2 separate regions of the Homo sapiens genome follow, and region 1 is linked to region 2. Evidence: promoter capture Hi-C in 16 types of primary human blood cells and fetal thymus (Javierre and others, 2016). All regions are on one chromosome and are shown on one strand. The core of a region is centred on a gene start or on the middle of the fragment in contact, and the rest is flanking DNA. Distances in the headings are between cores, read along the strand shown. Region 1 has its middle 16 kb from the start of LRRC4B. Region 2 holds the start of KLK2 (kallikrein related peptidase 2).

Region 1 (5,278 bases), core at 1,266-3,765, 290 kb before region 2:
TCTTTCTACTCTGCCATAATGTTTGGGACAAAATTGAATCATGAGGGTTTTTTTCTTCCATTACAAATGTAACACATCGCTCCTGCGTACGGCTGGGATGAGTCACTGGCACCAGACGTGCCCTCCTGCAAAAAACAGCTATGAAACTGGACAAAATACAGGAGGGCCACTGTTTTCAGGCGTTGAACAGTGGAAAGAGGACTGCGATCCTTGAGAAGAGACGATGGTGAAGGTGAGCCCATGTGTTGGCCCAGGTTCCTCACTGGGAGCCCTGTCCCTACCACAGCACAGAGATACGGGGCTAAAACAATGCAGTTGTTTTTTTGTGTTTTCTCTTCTCTTCTTTCTATTATCTTTTTTTTTTTTTGAGACCAAGTCTCGCTGTTACCCAGGCTGGAGTGCAATGGTGTGATCTCAGCTAAATGCAACCTCCACCTCCTGGGTTCAAGCGGTTCTCCTGCCTCAGCCTGTCAAGTAGCTGGGATTATAGACTCGTGCCATCATGCCTGGGTAATTTTTTTTTTTAATTTTTTTAGTATTTATTGATCATTCTTGGGTGTTTCTCGGAGAGAGGGATGTGGCAGGGTCATACGATAATAGTGGAGAGAAGGTCAGCAGATAAACACGTGAACAAAGGTCTCTGGTTTTCCTAGGCAGAGGACCCTGCGGCCTTCCGCAGTGTTTGTGTCCCTGGGTACTTGAGATTAGGGAGTGGTGATGACTCTTAACGAGCATGCTGCCTTCAAGCATCTGTTTAACAAAGCACATCTTGCACCGCCCTTAATCCATTTAACCCTGAGTGGACACAGCACATGTTTCAGAGAGCACGGGGTTGGGGGAAAGGTTATAGATTAACAGCATGCCAAGGCAGAAGAATTTTTCTTAGTATAGAACAAAATGGAGTCTCCTATGTCTACTTCTTTCTACACAGACACAGTAACAATCTGATCTCTCTTTCTTTTCCCCACATTTCCCCCTTTTCTTTTTGACAAAACCGCCATCGTCATCATGGCCCGTTCTCAATGAGCTGTTGGGGACACCTGCAGAAAGGCTGTCACTTCACACTTGGAAGATTGCACAGCGGCCAGGCAGAGGCACTCCTCACTTCCCAGACAGGGTGGCGGCCGGGCAGAGGGGCTCCTCACTTCCTAGACGGGGTGGCCGGGCAGAGGCGCTCCTCACTTCACGCCTGGATAATTTTTGTATTTTTAGTAGAGACGGGGTTTTGCTGTGTTGCCAAAACTGGTCTTGAACTCCTGGCCTCAAGGGATCTGCCCGTCTCAGCTTCCGAAAGTGTTGGGATTACAGGCGTGAGCCACCGTGCCTGGCCCAGAGCAGTCTTACTGAGCCGAGGAGACAGAGAGAGGGCTCTGGGGGCTGCTGACAAGGCTGGAATTTGCAGGATAGGGCAGTGGGGAAAAGGGAGCCGCATGAGGTGGGCCCCCAGAAGCCTGTGTGTAGTTCACCATAGGTCCTTGGCTAAGGACTGGACGGTGTCTGCAGAGGACAAGACTCCATGAGTACCAGTCGGGGGTAGCTGCTACAAAGATGAGAGATGAACAGAAATAAAAGCCGTCATGCAGCGCTAGGAGATGAGTCTCCAGCCCAGCCAGAGTGGGAGGGCCTCACTAAGCTCCTGGGCACTCAGCTGAAAGCTCAGGAAGGCCATGCTTTAGGAGTAAGGCCCTGACTTAATATTCTGTTGAGTGGATACAGCATGGTTAATTTAACCATTCCTTTCTAGTTGGATACTCTGGTAATTTTATTTTTCAAAAACTAGGCCTGGCATGGTGGCTCATGCCTATAACCCCAGAACTCTGGGAGGCTGAGGTGGGTGGATCTGTTGAGCTCAGGAGTTTGAGGCCAGCCTGGCTAACATGGTAAAACCCCGTCTCCACTAAAAATACAAAAATTAGCCAGGTTTGGTGGTGCGTGCCTATAGTCCCAGCTACTTGGGAAGCTGAAGTAGGAGAATCGCTTAAACCCGGGAGGTGGAGGTTGCAGTGAGCCGAGATGGTACCACTGCACCCATCCAGCCTGGGTGACAGAGCAAGACTCTGTTCAAAAAAGAAGTAAAAATAAAAAATAAAAATAAAGGCCAGGCACAGTGGCTCACACCTGTAATCCCAGCACTTTGGGAGGCTAAGATGGGCGGATCACCTGAGGTCAGGAGGTCGAGACCAGCCTGGATAAGATGGCGAAACCCTGTCTCTACTAAAAATACAAAAATTAGCTGAGCATGGTGGCACGCGCCTGTAGTCCCAGCTTCTCAGGAGGCTGAGGCAGGAGAATCGCTTGAAACTGAGAGGCCGAGGTTGCAGTGAGCCGAGATCACGCCACTGCACTCCAGCCTGGGTGAGAAGAGCAAGACTCCATCTCAAAAAAAAAAAAAAACTATTATAAAATATCACCATGAACCTCTTTGTAAGCTTCTGACTTTCAGGTGAATTCCCAGGCATGGGATATTTTCAGGGTATGGACATTGTTCCTGTATTTGACACCTTTCACCAATTTGCTTTCCAAAATTGTGGCAATTTACCTTCTGACAACTGAGTATCAGCATGCATGTCTGTTTGGCTGCACTCTCTCTAGCATTTGGTAGAAGCTTAAAACATTTGTTGCTCATTTGATGGGCAGAGGAAGGAATCACTGAGCTGTTGTAATGCTATGCCTTTGGGCTTTATAAAAGGAACTAAATGAAACAGTTAATGTGAAAATTGCTTTAGCTTCTGCAGAAAACTTTTGTTAATGACCCAGCAATTCAACTCATAGGAACTTATATTCAGGAAGTCATCAGAGAGGTAGACAAAAATATACACACAGAGATGTATCTCATAGAATCATTTATTATAGCCAAATCTGAAAAAAACTTAAGTGTTAATGGAGTACATGTGATCTGGGGATGCTGCTTTACCTGTAGCCTGTTTTCATTTCACTCCTAAGTTATTTATTTATTTTATTTATTTTTATTTTTATTTTTTATTTTTAGAGACAGAGCCTCGCTCTGTTGCCCAGGCTGGAGTGCAGTGGCACAATCTCAGCTCATTGCAACCTTTGCCTCCCAGGTTCAAGCGATTCTCCTGCCTCAGCCTCCAGAGTAGCTGGGACTACAGGCCGGTACCACCATGCCCGGCTAATTTGTGTATTTTTAGTAGAGATGGGGTTTCACCACGTTGGCCAGACTCGTCTCAAACTCCTGACCTCAGATGATCTGCCTGACTCAGCCTCCCAAAGTGCTGGGATTACAGGCGTGAGCTTCTGTGCCCGGCCCTGCCATATTATTATTATTATTATTTTGAGACAGAGTCTTGCTCTGTCACCCAGGCTGGAGTGCAGTGGCACAATCTCAGCTCACTGCAATTTCCACCTCCTGAGTTCAAGAAATCCTCCCACCTCAGCCTCCTGAGTAGCTGGGACTACAGGCGCCTGCCACCACGCCCAGCTTATTTTTGTATTTTTTTGTAGAGATGGGGTTTTGTCATGTTTGCCCTGGCTGGTCTCAAACTCTTGGGCTCAAGCCCCCTGGGCTCAAGTGATCCAGCCGCCTTGGCCTCCCAAAGTGCTGGGATTATAGGCATAAGCCACCATTTCTGGCCACTCCTGCCTTATTGACTAATAATTTTATTATTATTATTATTGTTATTGAGACAGAGTCTCTGTCACCCAGGCTGGAGTGCAGCGGTGCAATCTTAGCTCACTCCAACCTCCACCTCCTTGGTTCAAGTGATTCTCTTGCCTTCGTCTCCCAAGTAGCTGGGATTACAGGTGCCCACCACCATACCCAGCTAATTTTTGTATTTATGGGGTTTCACCATGTTGCCCAGGCTGGTCTCGAACTCCTGGGCTCAAATGATCTGCCCTCCTCAGCCTCCCAAAATGCTGGGATTACAGGCGTGGGCAACCACACCCAGCCACTCCTGACTTATTGACTAATAATTTTATTATTTTTATTTTTTTGAGACAGAGTAACCTATAATTTTAGCACTTGGGAAGGCCAGGGTGGGAGGATAGCTTGAGCCCAGGAGTTTGAGACCAGCCTGGGAAACATAGGGAGACCCCCGTCTCTGCAAAGAATCAGAAAAATTAGCCAGGCGTGGTGATACGTGCCTGCTCAGGAGGCTGAGGTGGAGGATCTCTTATCGGTGACAGGCTCTTCCACCTGGTACTTTCCCTCTACTTCGTGCTGCGTTTTGGCTGACAATAGCCTTAAGGGAGAGGAAATCAATATATATTCCCCCCATAGGACTGGCAAAACCAAAGTTAACTGGTGTAGTAAGCATTGATGAGATGGGCTGGGCCAGTGGCTCACTCCTGTAATCCCAGCACTTTGGGAGGCCAACACAGGCGGATCACTTGAGGTCAGGAGTTCCAGACCAGCCTGGCCAACATGGTGAAATCCCGTCTCTACTAAAAATACAATAATTAGCTGGGCATAGTGGCAAGCGCCTGTAATCCCAGCTACTTGGGAGGCTGAGGCAGGACAACCGCTTGAATCCAGGAGGCGGAGGTTGTGGCGAGCTGAGATCGCACAGCTGCACTCCAGCCTGGGCAACAGAGAGAGGCTCAGCTTAAAAAAAAAAGCACTGATGAGGATGTGGGGGAACAGGTCCTCTGTCCCATTACCAGCAGAAAGAAAATCAGGCTGGGCTCAGTGGCTCATGCCTGTAATCCCAGAACTTTGGGAGGCTGAGGCGGGTGGATCACCTGAGGTCAGGAGTTGGAGACCAGCCTGGTCAACATGGTGAAACCCCGTCTCTACTAAAAATACCAAATTAGCTGGGTGTGATGGCGGGCACCTGTAATCCCAGCAACTCGGGAGGCTGAAGCATAAGGAGCAGCTGAACCCGGGAGGCGGAGGCTGCAGTGAGCCAAGATCGCGCCTTTGCACTCCAGCCTGGGTGACAGAGCGATACCCTGTCACAAACACACACACAAAAAGTGAAAATCAGTATGTCTACCAATGGTTCCACACCCTTGCCACGGCCTCATCGTGTATGTGGGGTGCTTCCTTGCCCTTTAACTCTGCACAGTTGACTTGACTTGACTTGCTTTGGCCAATGGCATGTGGGTGGATGCACCAGCGTCTGAGTCTAGGCTTTCAGAAGCCTTGCATCTGCCTCTAGTCCGCTTGTGCCCCAGCCGTCACCACGAGACGCTCTCCCTGGCAGCCTACCTTCTCTCAACCTGGGCCCCAGAATGAGATGCTTGGAGCGGACCTGAGCCAGCCAGACCTGCAGCTTCAAGCAGAGCAGCCCTAGAAAAGTCTGGCTAGGCCGGG
Region 2 (5,423 bases), core at 1,751-4,250:
ACTCCACTTGAGGGTAATCACCTACTCTTCTAGTTCCACAAGAGTGCGCCTGCGCGAGTATAATCTGCACATGTGCCATGTCCCGAGGCCTGGGGCATCATCCACTCATCATTCAGCATCTGCACTATGCGGGCGAGGCCGGCGCCATGACGTCATGTAGCTGCGACTATCCCTGCAGCGCGCCTCTCCCGTCACGTCCCAACCATGGAGCTGTGGACGTGCGTCCCCTGGTGGATGTGGCCTGCGTGGTGCCAGGCCGGGGCCTGGTGTCCGATAAAGATCCTAGAACCACAGGAAACCAGGACTGAAAGGTGCTAGAGAATGGCCATATGTCGCTGTCCATGAAATCTCAAGGACTTCTGGGTGGAGGGCACAGGAGCCTGAACTTACGGGTTTGCCCCACTCCACTGTCCTCCCAAGTGAGTCTCCCAGATACGAGGCACTGTGCCAGCATCAGCTTCATCTGTACCACATCTTGTAACAGGGACTACCCAGGGCCCTGATGAACACCATGGTGTGTGCAGGAAGAGCGGGTGAAGGCACGGACTCCTGTGTGGTCAGAGCCCAGAGGGGGCCATGACGGGTGGGGAGGAGGCTGTGGACTGGCTCGAGAAGTGGGATGTGGTTGTGTTTGATCTCCTTTGGCCAGATAAAGTGCTGGATATAGCATTGAAAACGGAGTATGAAGACCAGTTAGAATGGAGGGTCAGGTTGGAGTTGAGTTACAGATGGGGTAAAATTCTGCTTCGGATGAGTTTGGGGATTGGCAATTTAAAGGTGGTTTGGGATGGCATGGCTTTGGGATGGAAATAGGTTTGTTTTTATGTTGGCTGGGAAGGGTGTGGGGATTGAATTGGGGATGAAGTAGGTTTAGTTTTGGAGATAGAATACATGGAGCTGGCTATTGCATGCGAGGATGTGCATTAGTTTGGTTTGATCTTTAAATGAAGGAGGCTATTAGGGTTGTCTTGAATTAGATTAAGTTGTGTTGGGTTGATGGGTTGGGCTTGTGGGTGATGTGGTTGGATTGGGCTGTGTTAAATTGGTTTGGGTCAGGTTTTGGTTGAGGTTATCATGGGGATGAGGATATGCTTGGGACACTGGATTCAGGTGGTTCTCATTCAAGCTGAGGCAAATTTCCTTTCAGACGGTCATTCCAGGGAACGAGTGGTTGTGTGGGGGAAATCAGGCCACTGGCTGTGAATATCCCTCTATCCTGGTCTTGAATTGTGATTATCTATGTCCACTTCTGTCTCCTTCACTGTACTTGGAATTGATCTGGTCATTCAGCTGGAAATGGGGGAAGATTTTGTCAAATTCTTGAGACACAGCTGGGTCTGGATCAGCGTAAGCTGCTCTGGTTTTATTGAACAGATGAAATCACATTTTTTTTTTCAAAATCAAAGAAATCTTATAGAGTTAACAGTGGACTCTTATAATAAGAGTTAACACCAGGACTCTTATTCTTGATTCTTTTCTGAGACACCAAAATGAGATTTCTCAATGCCACCCTAATTCTTTTTTTTTTTTTTTTTTTTTTTGAGACACAGTCTGGGTCTTTTGCTCTGTCACTCAGGCTGGAGCGCAGTGGTGTGATCATAGCTCACTGAACCCTTGACCTCCTGGACTTAAGGGATCCTCCTGCTTCAGCCTCCTGAGTAGATGGGGCTACAGGTGCTTGCCACCACACCTGGCTAATTAAATTTTTTTTTTTTTTTTGTAGAGAAAGGGTCTCACTTTGTTGCCCTGGCTGATCTTGAACTTCTGACTTCAAGTGATTCTTCAGCCTTGGACTCCCAAAGCACTGGGATTGCTGGCATGAGCCACTCACCGTGCCTGGCTTGCAGCTTAATCTTGGAGTGTATAAACCTGGCTCCTGATAGCTAGACATTTCAGTGAGAAGGAGGCATTGGATTTTGCATGAGGACAATTCTGACCTAGGAGGGCAGGTCAACAGGAATCCCCGCTGTACCTGTACGTTGTACAGGCATGGAGAATGAGGAGTGAGGAGCCACCGGAACCCCATATTGTTTAGTGGACATTGGATTTTGAAATAATAGGGAACTTGGTCTGGGAGAGTCATATTTCTGGATTGGACAATATGTGGTATCACAAGGTTTTATGATGAGGGAGAAATGTATGTGGGGAACCATTTTCTGAGTGTGGAAGTGCAAGAATCAGAGAGTACTGAATGCCAACGCTTCTATTTCAGGAACATGGTAAGTTGGAGGTCCAGCTTCTGGGCTCAGACGGGTATAGGGACCAGGAAGTCTCACAATCCGATCATTCTGATATTTCAGGGCATATTAGGTTTGGGGTGCAAAGGAAGTACTTGGGACTTAGGCACATGAGACTTTGTATTGAAAATCAATGATTGGGGCTGGCCGTGGTGGCTCACGCCTGTAATCTCATCACTTTGGGAGACCGAAGTGGGAGGATGGCTTGAGCCCAGGAGTTGGAGACCAGCCTAGGCAACATAGCCAGACCCTCTCTCTACAAAAAAATTAAAAATTAGCTGGATGTGGTGGTGCATGCTTGTGGTCTCAGCTATCCTGGAGGCTGAGACAGGAGAATCGGTTGAGTCTGGGAGTTCAAGGCTACAGGGAGCTGCGATCACGCCGCTGCACTCCAGCCTGGGAAACAGAGTGAGACTGTCTCAGAATTTTTTTAAAAAAGAATCAGTGATCATCCCAACCCCTGTTGCTGTTCATCCTGAGCCTGCCTTCTCTGGCTTTGTTCCCTAGATCACATCTCCATGATCCATAGGCCCTGCCCAATCTGACCTCACACCGTGGGAATGCCTCCAGACTGATCTAGTATGTGTGGAACAGCAAGTGCTGGCTCTCCCTCCCCTTCCACAGCTCTGGGTGTGGGAGGGGGTTGTCCAGCCTCCAGCAGCATGGGGAGGGCCTTGGTCAGCATCTAGGTGCCAACAGGGCAAGGGCGGGGTCCTGGAGAATGAAGGCTTTATAGGGCTCCTCAGGGAGGCCCCCCAGCCCCAAACTCACCACCTGGCCGTGGACACCTGTGTCAGCATGTGGGACCTGGTTCTCTCCATCGCCTTGTCTGTGGGGTGCACTGGTGAGATTGGGGGGATAAAGGAAGGGGGGCGGGTTCTGACTCTTATGCTGAAGCCCTTTTCCTCCCACCCAGTGCCCCAGCCTCGTCCCTTCAGCCCACAGTTCAGCCCAGACAATGTGCCCCTGACTCTTCCACATTGCAATAGTCCTCATGCCCACACTAGGTCCCCGCTCCCTCCCACTTACCTCAGACCTTTCTCTCCATTGCCCAGCCAAATCCCTGCTCCCAGCTGCTTTACTAAAGAGCAAGTTCCTGGGCATCTCTGTGTTTCTCTTTATGGGGTTCAAAACCTTTCAAGGACCTCTCTCCATGCCACTGGTTCCTTGGACCCTATCACTGGGCTGCCTCCTGAGCCCCTCAGTCCTACCACAGTCTACTGACTTTTCCTATTCAGCTGTGAGCATTCAACCCTGTCCCCTGGACCTTGACACCTGGCTCCCCAACCCTGTCCCAGGAAACCCAGATTCCACCAGACACTTCCTTCTTCCCCCCGAGGCTATCTGGCCTGAGACAACAAATGCTGCCTCCCACCCTGAGTCTGGCACTGGGACTTTCAGAACTCCTCCTTCCCTGACTCTTTGCCCCAGACCCGTCATTCAATGGCTAGCTTTTTCCATGGGAAAAACACGAGCACCCCCAACCACAACGGCCAGTTCTCTGATTCCCTAAATCCGCACCCTTTTCAAAACCTCAAAAACAAAACAAAACAAAACAAAGCAAGAAACAACTCAGGCAGAACTGTTTGCTTAACCTTGGACATGGTAAACCATCCAAAACCTTCCTCTCCCAGCAACTAAACCTCTCCACTGGGCACTTATCCTTGGTTTCTGGAACCTCTTATTCTCTTAGAACCCACAGCTGCCACCACAGTGTCCCTTCTCCCAGTGTAAGACCCCAAATCACTCCAAATGACCCAACCCCCAACCCGATGCCTGCTTCAGATGTTTCCCATGTCCCCTACTCTGATCTCTGGGGTCAGCTCCGTTCTCAGAGCATGAAGCCTCCCGACCTGGTCCAGCCACCAACCCGCTAACGCAGGGAATAGCTACAGAATTGCCAGCCCTCCCAGGACCCCTTGCTTGTGTCCTGGACTCCCAGTCCTGGTCCTCTGCCCCCATGTCTCTTCAAACCCACAGCTCAGCTCCCTCCCCTATCCAATTCTTTTGGGTCTGATCCCCCTGACCCAGCACCCCCTCCGCAGGTGCCGTGCCCCTCATCCAGTCTCGGATTGTGGGAGGCTGGGAGTGTGAGAAGCATTCCCAACCCTGGCAGGTGGCTGTGTACAGTCATGGATGGGCACACTGTGGGGGTGTCCTGGTGCACCCCCAGTGGGTGCTCACAGCTGCCCATTGCCTAAAGAAGTAAGTAGGACCCTGGGATCTGGGGAGGGAATGGCTGTGTCCCACAGGAATAACAGCGGGATGCTTCCCCCAGGGTCACTTCTCAGGTGAGGCTTCAGACTAAAGGAGAGAGGGAAGGTCCTGGCCCAGGTCGCACCCGGAGGCAGAGCTGGGGCTGGACCACTCTCCCCATGGCTGCCTGGGTTTCTCTCTGTGTCTGATCTCGCTGTGTCTCTTGGTATCTGGCTCTGGTTGTGTCTGTATGACTGTGTTTTGGTCTCTATGTCCCTCTCTCTTTTCTGTCTCCCTGTGTCTGTGTCTCCCCCGTCTCTGTCTCTGGGTCTCTCTGTGGCCATCTCTGTCACCGTGTGTCTCACCCTGCATCTCTTTGCCTGTCTTTCTCTCTGGGTCTCTGCCTCAGCCCTTCCTCATCACTACTGAACACACCCCGTGAGGGTGGGTGGGGAGCACCCAGAAAAAGGAAGGACTTTAAGCTCAATGTGTGTGCATGTGAGGGGGTGCCTGTCATTGCACAGCACTCTCTGCAGGACATCCCTCCACCCTGGGGAGACACAGGGAGGGCTGGTTTCAGCTGTAGCTGGGTGCACAATTGAGGAGGGAGGAAGGAGAAGGGGAAACAAGAAAGGAGGGGAAGGTGGCCGGGCACGGTGGCCCACGCCTGTAATCCCAGCACTTTGGGAGGCCGAGGTGGGTGGATCATCTGAGGTCAGGAGTTTGAAACCAGCCTGGCCAACATGGCAAAACCCCGTCTCTACTAAAAATACAAAAAGTAGCCAGGCGTGGTGCTGCGCGCCTGTAATCCCAATTACTAGGGAGGCTGAGGCAGGAGAATCGCTTGAACCCGGGAGGGAGAGGTTGCAGTGAGCCGAGATCGTGCCACTGCACTCCAGCCTGGGTGACAGAGCAAGACTCCATCTCAGAAAAAACAAACAAACAAACAAACAACAAAAAAAATCGAAAGGAGGGGAAGGGAGCTGGAGA

What was found. Contacts are between HindIII fragments. The CHiCAGO score rates a contact against its expected background, and 5 or more counts as called.
Region 1: a contact is called between a fragment that was not itself captured here and the fragment with the promoter of KLK2 in region 2, in 8 of 17 cell types (M1 macrophages, monocytes, total CD8 T cells and 5 more). The highest score is 10.0, in M1 macrophages.

What each region holds. Positions count from the first base shown.
Region 1 is chr19:50,581,319-50,586,596 of GRCh38, forward strand. No RefSeq gene overlaps it. Among named protein-coding and RNA genes, the nearest start is that of LRRC4B, 16 kb to the left of the region's middle. The HindIII fragment of the contact is 176 bases long and covers 2,428-2,603 here.
Region 2 is chr19:50,870,439-50,875,861 of GRCh38, forward strand. It overlaps KLK2 (kallikrein related peptidase 2), which reads left to right and starts at 3,001. Exons shown (of 5, transcript NM_005551.5): 1 at 3,001-3,081; 2 at 4,283-4,442. The coding sequence starts at 3,036. RefSeq lists promoters at 1-3,026, 2,401-3,026, 2,673-3,026, enhancers at 55-349, 2,825-2,839 and a cis regulatory region at 2,825-2,839. The HindIII fragment of the contact is 10,018 bases long and covers 1-5,423 here.